Regions from separate parts of the Homo sapiens genome. Here region 1 is linked to region 2. Evidence: promoter capture Hi-C in 16 types of primary human blood cells and fetal thymus (Javierre and others, 2016). All regions are on one chromosome and are shown on one strand. Each heading gives the region's core, a stretch centred on a gene start or on the middle of the fragment in contact. The rest is flanking DNA. Distances are from core to core; before and after follow the strand shown.

What was found. The method cuts DNA at HindIII sites, captures the fragments that hold promoters and counts their contacts. A CHiCAGO score of 5 or more calls a contact.
Region 1: a contact is called between a fragment that was not itself captured here and the fragment with the promoter of PSMB7 in region 2, in 2 of 17 cell types (megakaryocytes and endothelial precursors). The highest score is 8.2, in megakaryocytes.

Annotation. Positions count from the first base shown.
Region 1 is chr9:124,534,935-124,538,937 of GRCh38, reverse strand. NR6A1 (nuclear receptor subfamily 6 group A member 1) reads left to right here. Exons shown (of 10, transcript NM_033334.4): 6 at 619-846; 7 at 2,806-3,060. Among named protein-coding and RNA genes, the nearest start is that of NR5A1, 30 kb to the right of the region's middle. RefSeq lists an enhancer at 2,725-3,225. The HindIII fragment of the contact is 1,882 bases long and covers 1,433-3,314 here.
Region 2 is chr9:124,413,778-124,417,391 of GRCh38, reverse strand. PSMB7 (proteasome 20S subunit beta 7) reads left to right here and starts at 1,950. Exons shown (of 8, transcript NM_002799.4): 1 at 1,950-2,028; 2 at 2,457-2,550; 3 at 3,387-3,484. The coding sequence starts at 1,967. RefSeq lists an enhancer at 1,994-2,043. The HindIII fragment of the contact is 2,900 bases long and covers 1-2,501 here.

The sequences.
Region 1 (4,003 bases), core at 1,124-3,623, 120 kb before region 2:
CTGTGGCTGGCTTAGGTTTTTTTTTTTTTTTTAATTAGTTGACAGAGTGGTTAGCTTTCTCCAAGAAAGGAAAGGAAGGCAAAAATCTACCTTTGTCTTCATATTTAATTAAAGCTTTTATCCCATTCAGGTGCCCCTTCGTTTGTTCTTTCCTTGGACTATTTAGGGGGTTGTTGCCACATGCCGGGTTCCTTGCTAGATGCTGGATTTGTTTTGTGGCCTAGCCAGGACTTAGCCTGTCTGTGCCTTAGTTTTCCTAGCAGTATTATAATATAAATACCTACTTTGTCATCATAGTCTACAAGTATCTGTTAAAAAACTGTCCAGACATGGCACCTATACAAAGAATTCATTCAACCAATATTTATTCATTACCTACTCTGCCATGCACTGAGTGTCCAGTGGCGACCCCAACATTCATATACCCATAGAGTCTTTGTCTTACAGATGGGAATCTAGTAGGAGAGACATGAATTTAACTATTAATTATGCCCCCTGGCTTGATGAAGACACATACCTCATGTTCAAAGAATACCTAAAGTCACCTTCTGGCTCACTTCCTTTGAGTAATTACTAGACTTGCCATGGCTCTGTTTGACGCAAGACTTTTCTCTCCAGTAGGTCTGTGGAACTGAATGGATTCATGGCCTTCAGGGAACAGTACATGGGAATGTCTGTGCCTCCACATTACCAATATATACCGCACCTTTTTAGCTATTCTGGCCACTCACCACTTCTGCCCCAACAAGCTCGCAGCCTGGATCCCCAGTCATACAGTCTGATTCACCAGCTGTTATCAGCCGAGGACCTGGAACCATTGGGCACGCCCATGTTGATTGAAGATGGGTGAGTGAGCTCCGCCCTTCTTGGCCCCTTGCAGTCTCAAAGTGTCCCTACCCCACACCCACTCGCGTCCCTGGCTCCTATACCCGTGGCTTCAGAATGAGTTGGGGGGATAATGACTCAAGTGTCAGGGGACAAATCTGTGCTTATCTTTGAAACCAGTGATCCCTTATTTTTTCCTTAAGCATCCTTTCTCATAGAGTTGAGGTTACTTTCCAGTTCCTATGGAATTGAGATAGAAGGGCCTTTGATTCTGCTTGGGCCTAGGTAAGCCAGGTGCTGGGATGGGTCAGAGCACTTCCATGCTAGAGATGAGCAGTAATTCTGGGAATAGTTATATATCGGATATAGGCTCCTTCACAAAGCCCTGGCTGGTTGTAGCCTGTCTGCACCCCTCACCAGCATCCCCATGGCTAGCCTGGTGGCATGTGACCACTTTAAGTGCAGGCTTGAGTGGGTAGAAGGAGTATTCTTTCAGTCTTTAGTCACTTCTACCTGAGGAGATAACAGTTCAGCCTTCGGGCCTACCCATTGCTGCATCCATTACTCCTTTGGCCTAGAGCATAAACGATTTGAGTGTTATCAAGCTTAGACCTCCCAGGAAGGTATCCTGAGATTTCTTAAGCTAGTCTCCAGTTTCAGAAGAGGAGATTAAAATATCTACCCACAAGGAGGTCACACAAACCCTTTGTAAATCTAGATGTAGGAAGCCGGGCGTGGTGGCTCATGCCTGTAATCCCAGCACTTTGGAAGGCCTAGGTGGGCGGATCACCAGGTCACGAGTTCCAGACGAGCTGGCCAACATGGTGAAACCCCGTGTGTACTAAAAATACAAAAATTAGCTGGGTGTGGTGGCACACGCCTGTAATCGCAGCTACTCAGTAAGCTGAGGCAGGAGAATTGCTTGAACCCAGGAGGTGGAGGTTGCAGCGAGCTGAGGTTGCGGTGAGCCGAGATTGCGCCACTGCACTCCAGCTCTGGGTGACAGAGTGAGACTCCGTCTCAAAAAAAAAAAAAAAAAAAATTTAGATGTGGGAGTGTGAGGAAAAGTCTTGGCAAGGGGCCTTGAGAGGAAGAAAGCTGAAACTCTTGGGTCTGTGAGTCTGTGGTCTCAAAGCCGGCTTTTATTCCAGTTTTAGCTTAAAGGAAAGGCTGAGCAATGCTGGTTCCTGAACTCACCACCAGGGGGTGGAGTGAGAGCAGAAAAATCTTCTGAACTTGTTCTCTTTCCTTCAGTGGTCTGGACGCGAGGCTTATTTTTGTGCCAGTTCCTTTGTTAGGTGGGCATCAGATCCACCCCATTAGAGTTCCATTGCCAGAACTTGAACAGGAGTGACTTGGATTTTCTCTAAGACATGGAACATTAGAGAACACCAACAATAAAAGTCATATTCCCTGACAATTGGACACATTTCTTTTTTTTTTTTTTTTAGACAGAGTCTTGCTCTGTCACCCAGGCTGAAGTGCATTAGCGCAATCTCAGCTCACTGCAATCTCCGCCTCTCAGGTTCAAGTGATTCTTCTGCCTCTGCCTCAGCCTCCCGAGTAGCTGGGATTACAGGCATGTGCTACCACGCCCGGCTAATTTTTGTATTTTTAGTAGAGATGGGGTTTCACCATGTTGGCCAGGCTGGTCTCGAACTCCTGAACTCAAGTGGCCTCCAAGTGCTGGGATTACAGTCATGAGCCATTGCACCCAGCCAATTGCACACATTTCTAAGTCTCCTTTCCCCTTAGCAGCCTTTCCTCACCAGACCCGCCTCTCCAGCCCTGAACTTGCTGCTGGCCTCAGCCTTCCCCCTTTATCAGAAAATCACACTGAATGGAACTGGAGACCCGTGGGCATGGAGCAAGGAGCCCATTGCCAGGGTCCCTTTGTGCCCTTGGGACTACCTTCTCTCTGTACCCTTATCCTCACCCTCTGACCAATGGAAGTGACTTTCCCCTGTCCCTGCCCCTCAGATACGCTGTGACACAGGCAGAACTATTTGCCCTGCTTTGCCGCCTGGCCGACGAGCTGCTCTTTAGGCAGATTGCCTGGATCAAGAAACTGCCTTTCTTCTGCGAGCTCTCAATCAAGGATTACACGTGCCTCTTGAGCTCTACGTGGCAGGAGCTAATCCTGCTGTCTTCCCTCACCGTTTACAGCAAGCAGATCTTTGGGGAACTGGCTGATGTCACTGCCAAGTACTCGCCCTCCGATGAAGAACTACACAGGTGAGGCCTCCTGGCTGGGGAGGAAATACCAAACAACCAAACAATTGTCATCCCTGTAAGGCAGAGTTGCCTGGCCCTTCAGAGGATAGGCACTACACCTCATAGGCCTGGATTTGAATCCTCACTCTGCCACTGACTAGATTTGTGACCTTGGCCAAGTCTCTGATCCTCAGGTTCTGAACTGGTAAAATGGGGTGATAACACAATTTCCCCAGTAAGATGGTTGTTAGGAATACATTTTATGCATTCAAGCTTAGCAGAATGCTAAGCTGTAATTTTTTTTAAATTAATTTATTTTTTGAGACAGAGTCTCATTCTGTCGCCCAGGCTGGAATGTAGTGGCGCAGTCTTGGCTCACTGCAACTCTTGCCTCCCGGGTTCAAGTGATTCTCCTGCCTCAGCCTCCCAAGTAGTTGGGATTACAGGTGCCTGCCACCACACCTGGCTAATTTTTGTATTTTTAGTAGAGACGAGGTTTCACCATGTTGGCGAGACTGGTCTCAAACTGTTGACCTCAAGTGATCTACCCGTCTCAGCCTCTCAAAGTGCTGGGATTACAGGTGTGAGCCACTGCACCCAGCTGATCTTTATTATACTTGGATTACTGAGATAACGCATCCAGGAAAAATAAAAATATAAATTCTGCCTACAAGGCAAGAGAGGCTCTGAACTGGAGTTTACAATCCAAGAAAGAGACCTAGGGGTCATTTTGGTGCCTATAGTGTGCCAGGCATTAGGCTAGATTTTTTTTTTTGAGACGGTGTCTGGCTCTGTCACCCAGGCTGGAGTGCAGTGGTGCAATCTTGGCTCACTGCAAGCTCCGCCTCCCGGTTTCATGCCATTCCCCTGCCTCAGCCACCCAAGTAGCTGGGACTATAGGGGCCCGCCACCACGCCCGGCTAATTTTTTGTATATTTAGTAGAGATGGGGTTTCACCGTGTTA
Region 2 (3,614 bases), core at 701-3,200:
AATTCACCTAACGTAGAAGTCACCATTTTAACCATTTTAAAGTGTGCAACTCAGTGGTTTTTAGTGTATTCATAATATCGTGCAACCAATACCACTATGTAATTCCAGAATATTTTCATCATTTTCCAAAAACTCTGCGCCCACTAAACAGTCCTATCCATTCTCTCCTCCTCCCCTAACCCTTAGCAACCAAACATCTACTTTCTGTCTGTGGATTTGCCTATTAAGAACACTTCACATACATGGAATGATACACTATGTGGCCTTTTGTGCCTGGCTTCTTTCCCTCAGTATATTTTTAAGGTCCATCCCTGTTGTAACATGTATCTGTGCTTCAGACTTCTTTATGGTCTAATAATATTCCATTAAATGAATTTACCATATTTTGTTTATCCATTCATCAGTGGATGGACATTTGTTTCCATTATTTGGCTATTGTGAATAATGAGACCCCCCCCTCGCTTTTTTTTTTGAGACGGAGTCTCTGCTCTGTTGCCCAGGCTGGAGTGCAGTGGCGTGATCTCAGCTCACTGCAACTTCTGCCTCCCTGGTTCGAGCTATTCTCCTGCCTCGGCCTCCTGACTAGCTGGGACTACAGGTGCCCACCACCACGTCTGGCTAAGTTTTTGTATTTTTAGTAAAGACGGAGTTTCACCGTGTTAGCCAGGATGGTCTCAATCTCCTGACCTCATGATCCGCCCACCTCGGCCTCCCAAAGTGCTGGGATTACAGGCGTGAGACACCGCGCCCAGCCAATGAGACCCCTTTTGACGCAGGGCAGGTAAGCCCCAAAGTGCGGCTGAGCCCACAAGGGTTCTTGGCTTTGCCCAAGAAAGAATTCAAGGGCAAGTTAGAGGCAGAAGAAAACGGCTTTATTGAAGTGGCGGCGTTACAGCTCCATGACTGCTCCTGCAGAGCAGGGTTACCCTCTTAGGCAGAGTGTCAGGGCAGTTTTGCTGTCATATTTATACACACTTTTAATTACATGCAGATTAAGGGGTGGTTTATGCAGGCATTTCTAGGGAAGGGGTAGTAACTTTTGGTTTATGGTGCCACTGCCATGGAAAGGGGCGGTAACTCACGAGTGTTGCCATGGCAACGGTAAACTGACTTGGCTGGCTGGTGAGCGAGTCTTAGGGAAGACAGCTTCCGTCCAGGCCCTGTTTTAGCTAGTCCTCAATTTGGTCAGGTATCTCAGCCCCATCTCTGAATGGAGGCCTGCCTTCTACCTCACCTTTGTAGAAGTTTTTGTGAATACATGTCTTCAACCCTCTCGGGTGCGTATCTAAGAGGATAATACTTTTTGGGGAACTGCCAAATTGTTTTCCGGAGCAGCCGCACCGTTTTGCATTCTCACCAGCCGTGTATTCGGGTTCCAATTTCTCCACACTCTCGCAACCCTTGCGCTTTTCTGTCTTTTTGTTTATGGCCATCCTAGCGGGTGCGAAGTGGGATCTCACTGTGGTCGTGCTTTGCATTCACCCTATGACTAATCATGTTGAGCCTCTTTTCACAGACTTAATGGCCATTCTACAGCAGCCTTTTGAGCTAGGTTGTAATCTCCATCTGATAGCGGAGGAAACAGATTCAGAGAGTTGAAGAGACTTGCTTAACGCAAGGGGGTGGTGGGGCTGTGCCTGGGACTTGGGTCTGTCTGTCTCTGAAGCACCGCAGAACCAAATTAACGGTAGAAACAAGTCCAGTCTGAGCGGCAGGAGACCTGGTCGCTGGTGCGTTCACCTTGGACAAGTCCTTTCCCGGTTCCGGGTGTCACTTTCTCCTCCGTGCCACTTGGGGCGATATACTTCAAACATCTCTGGCCTCTCTAGGAACCAGAATCTCTAAGATCAATCGTTCTAGTGCGGCGTTTGCCCCGCCCCTTCAGCCCCCGTTGCCAGCGACGCCGGAAGTGCTCGGCTCTTTTTGTTTGCACCCGCCTCCGACCCGGAACTGCTTTCTTGGGAAGATGGCGGCTGTGTCGGTGTATGCTCCACCAGTTGGAGGCTTCTCTTTTGATAACTGCCGCAGGTGCCGCCTTGCTTGGGGCTTGGTTCAGGGAGGGAGAAGAGTGCGGTGCTCGGGTGGGAGCTGGGCCAAGGTGTGATACGAGAATTCTGAGGGAAGAATTCATGGCGGGGCCTGTGGCCCGCGGCTAGTGTGACTCAGGGGAATCAGGGCCTGGGCGTGGGTTTCTCCTGAAGCCGGGTCTGCTCTCCCACCTTCCCAGCGCACTCGGCCACCGTTTATCTCCGTCTCCTAAGGCACGTCACGGCCCCTTTGTAAGACTGTCTTCGTTGGAAAACGGGAGAACAGTGCTGATGGTGGGAGGATTCATTAAACAGATGGGCGTGAAAACAAGTAGCAGCTTTCCTGAGTTCTCTGTTAGGCACTTTTCATGCCAGTGCTGTGCGATGTGGTCCTGCCCTTCAACACTTGATTCTCTCATTTGCTCTTAGGAATGCCGTCTTGGAAGCCGATTTTGCAAAGAGGGGATACAAGCTTCCAAAGGTCCGGAAAACTGGCACGACCATCGCTGGGGTGGTCTATAAGGTAAGCCGGGTTAGGCTAAGAGCAGCAGTGACTGAACCGGCAACAGGAATCAGAACACTTGGCTTCCGGTGTCTCTCCCGGCTCGGTCTGGAAAGGCAAATGCTATAGAATACATCAGGAGACCGTCTTTCAGGAGCGACTGCTTTTGTCAGGTTTTGTGTGCTTCTTAACAGTTTATGTTCTTTCCTCACTTTGCTGAGGTTTTTTCTTTCTTTCTTTTTTTTTTTTTTAAACAGGTCAGTTAGCTTCTTAATTACTAGTTTAGGAAGCTGAAGTATGTGATGGGAGATCACGAGATTTGGGGTCAGACAGGTCTGTCTCACCTTTGAACTCTATAGTGCTGATTCCAACTTCTGGCAGCTCACTTTCCTTCTCACAGGGACACCTTCAGATGCATCAAATGGAGATAACTCCTGCCTTAAATTGTTGGAAACGTCAAAAGGGATAATGATTACCTGTGCAACATGTTTTAAAGAAAAGCAACATGTTTTAAAAGGAAATTGATAGTGATGGCTAATTTAATGGAAAGATTCCTGAGTCTTAATCCAGGTTTTTTCCAGATTAGCTCTGATTTACAAGGAATTTACCCGACACCTGAGCCTCACTTGAAAATGGGAATAATTCTTACCTACTCAGGATTCAATTAGTAGCATTTACTAAGAAACCTTTTCTTAAATCCTGAAAGTGTAGCACAATATTTTTGCTATGAGTTTTGGCTGGCGTTTTGAGATTAGGGGAGCATGTGGTATGGCCAACATAGTATTCCCTAAAGTAGAATAGAGAGTTGCGGTTGGCTTATATTTGTAAAATTGTTTAAAAACTTTTTTTTTTAATAGGATGGCATAGTTCTTGGAGCAGATACAAGAGCAACTGAAGGGATGGTTGTTGCTGACAAGAACTGTTCAAAAATACACTTCATATCTCCTAATATTTAGTAAGTATTGATTCGTTTGAATAACTCTTATATTTTCAAACATGTCAGGGCTAAAAATTGACCTTCCTGTGCTCCTTACTAAAACCTGTTTTTCAACCTGTATTTTCTGTCTCCCTTAAATGGCATTTCC